Regions from separate parts of the Homo sapiens genome. Here region 1 is linked to region 2. The links are contacts of gene promoters, found by promoter capture Hi-C in human tissues and cell types (Jung and others, 2019). All regions are on one chromosome and are shown on one strand. The core of a region is centred on a gene start or on the middle of the fragment in contact, and the rest is flanking DNA. Distances in the headings are between cores, read along the strand shown.

Evidence for each region. The method cuts DNA at HindIII sites, captures the fragments that hold promoters and counts their contacts. A contact is called where the count stands out against the background at its distance.
Region 1: a contact is called between a fragment that was not itself captured here and the fragment with the promoter of FAM90A1 in region 2, in 1 of the 25 tissues and cell types used here (spleen).

The regions. Positions count from the first base shown.
Region 1 is chr12:8,021,249-8,023,948 of GRCh38, reverse strand. No RefSeq gene overlaps it. Among named protein-coding and RNA genes, the nearest start is that of FOXJ2, 10 kb to the left of the region's middle. The HindIII fragment of the contact is 5,712 bases long and covers 1-2,700 here.
Region 2 is chr12:8,226,261-8,228,960 of GRCh38, reverse strand. It overlaps FAM90A1 (family with sequence similarity 90 member A1), which reads left to right and starts at 1,343. Exons shown (of 7, transcript NM_018088.3): 1 at 1,343-1,481; 2 at 2,483-2,689. It also overlaps the pseudogene ALG1L10P. RefSeq lists an enhancer at 1,732-1,781. The HindIII fragment of the contact is 5,625 bases long and covers 1-2,515 here.

The sequences.
Region 1 (2,700 bases), core at 143-2,642, 210 kb after region 2:
CCTTCTTAAACAATAGTAATCATGAGTTTCTTTCATCCCTGGAAGCCCAAGAAACAAACACCAGGCCTCAAAAGACCAGGGATGAAAGCACTGGGTTGCATTGCCTTTGGCATTTATGGAAAGAAGAAAAAGAAGAAAAGGGCAGTGGGCTACTGCTCAATCAGGTATTAGATCTGTCAGGGCTGGCTGCAGTAACTAGAAACCACTTAAGTAGGAAAGGCTTTAATACTGGGGCTTAATGTGCTTACAAAATCGTTGGAAGTACTGGAGAAAGGGGGTTTCTGCTGTATATCAGAAATGGCTCCAAGAATGAGGCTGCTAAATTCACCCACCAGGAAAGCTTTAGAAAGATGAGAAATCAAGACTGTATTGCTGCAGCTGTTGAGTTCAGGAACACATGCCCCTGTACTGACATGAGTATGGAAAGAAAAAAAATTAAAAATAAAGAAAAAAAGGAGAACTTACTGCCCTAGTTGTGATCAAGGAATTGGGCAGCTACTGTTGCTAACACAGCCTCAGCACCTTTCAACAGCCATGAAACGCCGGGCACAGTGGCTCACACCTGTAATCCCAGCACTTTGGGAGGCCGAGGCAGGTGGATCACCTGAGGTCAGGAGTTCGAGACCAGCCTGGCCAACATGGTAAAACCCCATCTCCACTAAAAATACAAAAATTAGCCGGGTGTGGTGGCGGGCACCTGTAATCCCAGCTACTTGGGAGGCTGAGGCAGGAGAATCGCTTGAACCTGGGAGGCAGAGGTTACAGTGAGCTGAGATCGTGTCACTGCACTCCACACTCCAGCCTGGGTGACAAAGCGAGACTCCTTCTCAAAAACAAAAACAAACAAAAAAAAACAGCCGTGGAACTAGTGAATAGACATTGGAACACTGCTGCAGAAAAACCCAGCATTCCCATGACTCTGCTGACCAGCAGCAACAGCCAAAGCGGCCAGCAGCTGACCCCAGCCTGGCTTCCACTTTTCAAGTTTCTTATGTGTGCAAATTATTGATAGATCCACAATTTACAACTAGAATCCTAGTTGCGAAAAAATCTGGAAAGTATAGTTTTTGGTTTTCCAGTCTCTGCAGAGGAAGGTATATAAAGGAAATAGAACATGGGTCACCTATATCCACTACAAGAATATATGGATCTACATTTAAAAGATTTCCCTCCAGGGCGTGGTGGCTCATGTCTGTAGTCCTAGCTACTCAGAAGACTGAAGTGGGAGGATTGCTTGAGCCTGGGAGGTCGAGGCTGCAGTGGAGCTGTGTATGTTCCACTGCACTCCACCCTGGGTGACAAAGTGGACCCTATGTCAATAAATAAATAAGCCGGGCCAGGTGGCTTACAGTGGTGTGGTCCCAGCTACACAGGAGGCTGAGGTGGAAGGATCACTACTGCACTCCAGCCTGGGCAACAGAGCAAGGCCTTGGCTCAAAAAAAAAGAAAAAAAGAAAAAAAAACCCCACAGATTTTCTTAGTAACAAATAAAATGTAGAATGAAACAAAAGGATGTTGAACCAGAAGCAGCATAAGAATGAAGCAAAAGTCTGTTCTAAACTTTTTCATTTTATAAACCAGTGGGGAAATATGAGAGAGCACAGAACTTTTTATATTTTCAGGTAAAGACATTAATTACCAACTAAAGTCTACTATGCCCATCATTTTATAAAAGAATCAACATTTTAATATTAATTAAAACCTTCCACCAGAAAGACAGGAAGGTTATAGTCTCAGGGCTGGGTGCAGTGGCTCATGCCCATAATCCCAGCACTTTGGGAGGGTGAGGATTGCTTGAGCTCAGCAATTCGAGACCAGCCTACGAAACATGGCGAGACTTGTCTTTACAAAAAAATACAATTTAACAAAAAAATTAGCTAGGTGTGGTGGTGATGCCTGTCGTTCCGGCTACTTGGCCAACTTGGGTAGGAGGATCGCTTCAGCCCAGAAGTTCACACCACTGCACTCCAGCCTGGGCGACAGAGCAATACTGCCCCCCCAAAAAATTTAAAATTAAAAAAGGAAAGTTTCAGTCTCAGAATTTAATAACTAAATACATTTAACATCAAGAAAAGTACTACTTTGTCCTGTCCTTTCTGAGTGAACACTTTGGCCAGTATGACAGGGCTCTGAAGCCACTGAGGTAATGTGAGATCTCTGCCATAGTAAGGAGAAAGCTTAGCTTCTTGTCCAGCCTGCTTCGGACTTACTGAACAATTCTGAACAAGTCACTTGACCACTGGGCCTTCATTTATAACTAATTAAAATTAGTACTACAAGTAAATATTAATATTTAAGAGGGAAGGGGCCAGGCGCAGTGGCTCATGCCTGTAATCCCAGCACTTTGGGAGGCCAAGGTGGGTGGATCACCTGAGGTCAGGAGTTCAAGTCCAGCCTGATCAAGATGGTGAAACCTCGTCTTTACCAAAAATACAAAAATAAACCGGGCGTGATGGCAGTGCCTGTAATCCCAGCTACTCGTGAGGCTGAGGCTGGAGAATCGCTTGAACCCGGGAGGTGGAGATTGCAGTGAGCCGAGACCACGCCATTGTACTCCAGCCTGGGTGACAGAGCGAGACTCCTTCCCAAACAAACAAACAAACAAACAAAGAAATTATGGGCCAGGCACGGTGGTTTACACCTGTAATCCCAGCACTTTGGGAGGCTGAAGCGGACGGATCACGAGGTCAGGAGTTCAAG
Region 2 (2,700 bases), core at 94-2,593:
AGCTACTCAGGAGGCTGAGGCAGGAGAATCGCTTGAACCCGGGAAGGCAGAGGTTGCAGTGAGCCAAGATCGCGCCATTGCACTCCAGCCTGGGCTACAAGAGCGAAACTCCGTCTCAAAATAATAATAATAATAATAATAATAATAATAATAATAATAATAACAAGAGCGAAACTCCGTCTCAAAATAATAATAATAATAATAATAATAATAATAAACCACATCACACCCACCACAAACCAGCTGTCAGTGTGAAAATAAAGCCAAATAGCTTAACATTTCTAAAGACTAGCTGGGGCTAGGCATGATGGGTCAGGCCTGGAATCTCAGCACTTAGGGAGGCCAAGGCGAGAGGATCACTTGAGGTCAGGAGTTCAAGACCAGCCTGGCCAACATGGTGAAACCCTGTCTCTGCTAAAAATACAAAAATAAGCCAGGTGTTGTGGCGGGCTCCTGTAATCCTGTAATCTACTTGGGAGGCTGAGGTGGGTGAATCGCTTGAACCCAGGAGGCGGAGGTTGCATGAACTGAGATCGTGCACTCCAGCCTAGGCAACGGAGCAAGACTGTCTAAAACAAAGACTAGCTGGAGAATCCTGCCAGGAAAAGGCCCTCAGACTCCAACTGCTCTGCTCACTCGAAGCTGGAAGATGCGGCTCTAGAGACGCATCAGGACCAAGCCACGACTCCCCACTTGGAGAAATCAACGCGGAAAGAGACGGAGGCAAAGGAGAACCATCGCACTGGGAGAGGCGACGCTGTTTGACACATCGTCCCTGTACCTCCCAAAGCCACTGCCCTCCCACACCTGGGCAACAGTGGCCCCAACCCCAGGCCCAGCCCTCCTGCAGGAAGGAAGAGGACTGAATGGAGGGCGTGGCAGACTGAAAGGACGTGGCCTCCTCAAACCCCTTGGTAAAGGGCCTCTGGGGCCACCTGGCAGGGAGGGGCTGGCACACCAGGAAGTAGCCTCCTCCCGGGAGTTCAGCTAGAGCCCAGGTCCTGTCCCCAAGTGGCCTCCAGAGCCACCTTTTCTGAAAAAAGTACATCCTGCCCACCCCTGTTCCCCCTGCTTAAGGCCCCGCGTCCTCCCTGAGCCTCCTGCTGGCCTCTCACCTAGAAGCGGGGGTAGTCCTCGGCCCTCCAGCCAGGGGGTGCAGACCTGGATGTGCTGGAAATGCTTCTGGTGGATGAGGCGGCTGTAATACTCCCTCAGAGGCCCTTTGCCTTCACAGAGAAAAGCAGACACTGCCATGGACCCGTCTCTCTCCGTGCCACGTGGCCCCAGGCCCAAGACACTCCCCCTAGGAGGGATCCTTTTCCCAGAAGCTCCACCCCTCGGCAGCTCCAGTCAGGCCCCATCCGGGCCCTTCCAGAAGCAACCCAGGAGCCCCGAGACCTGCAGGGATGTGTGCACCCTGACCCCTGACGCATAGCCCTGCACCTGCAGCCAGCTGGCCTCGGGCTTGAAAACATGGCGGGGTAAGCACTGGCCTGGCACCCGACCGCCCACTGGGTGGACCCAGCCTTCTGTCTGTGTTGTGCGCAGGGGACACGAGGACTCCCGCTGCCCTGACACAGCCCCCAGATCACATGGCGCAGGTTCCAAGCCGCCCCTGCCCTGCCACAGCCCCCAGAGCACACGGCGCAGGTTCCAAACCACTCCTGGGAGCCTAGAGGCCAAAGGAGGGAGGAGAGCAGGACCAGCAGCTGGCCCAGACCCCGCCTCTTCCCACACCGCTTCTGCTTTTCCCCCTCCTCACTGAGTCATCTTGAAAGGGCTCAGCAGCAGTAACTGAGGGACAGGGGCTCTTCCGTTTGAAAAATTAAAAGAGGCTTGGTTAAGGCAACAATGACATGACCGGGCACAATGGCTCATATCAATAATTCCAGCATATTGGGAGGCCAAGGCAGGTGGATCACCTGAGGTCAGGAGTTCAAGACCAGCCTGGCCAACATGGTGAAACCCTGTTTCTACTAAAAATACCAAAATAAGCTGGGTGTAGTGGGCACCTGTAGTCCCAGCTACTCGGGAGGCTGAGGCATGAGAATTGCTTGACTGTGAGACGCGGAGGTTGCAGTGAGCTGAGATCACACCACTGCACCCCAGCCTGGGCGACAGAGACTGTGTCTCAAAAAAAAAAAAAAAAAAAAAAAAAGACATCAATGAAGAAACAAGAAAAAAAAAAAGATGCTTGGAAACTACTGAAAAATTAGAAAGCTTGGTATGTACAGATTCACATCTGGGCTCCCTGCCCTGCTGTGAAACCCTCTGAGCTTCAGTTTCCCACATGTAAAGCAGTATAAGACCCTATGGCAGAGAGCTGCAGTGGGGATTAAGGAGACAAGATCGTGGGAAGCACAAGGTAAAGGCGGCGTGCCCCTCCCTGGACTCCAATGCCTGGAGTCTCAAGACCAGCTGAAAAGGGAGCCAGGCACTGAAGGACAAAGCGGTGTTGACTTTCTTCATCTGTGTTTCCCAGTGCGCTCCAATTCACGGTGGTTTCCAAGCGCATTCTGGAGGAGAAAACACATGAGTGTGTGGTCAGGGTTCTCTGCTGACAGACCTACCGTGGGGAAGAAAGAGAAGCTCTGAAGATGGATCATGGCCGTGACTGCATGTCAAGGAGAATCTCCATGATGACACGGAGGCCTACGTCGAGATAGAGTAAATATGGTCCAATTAAAAGGTGTCTATTTT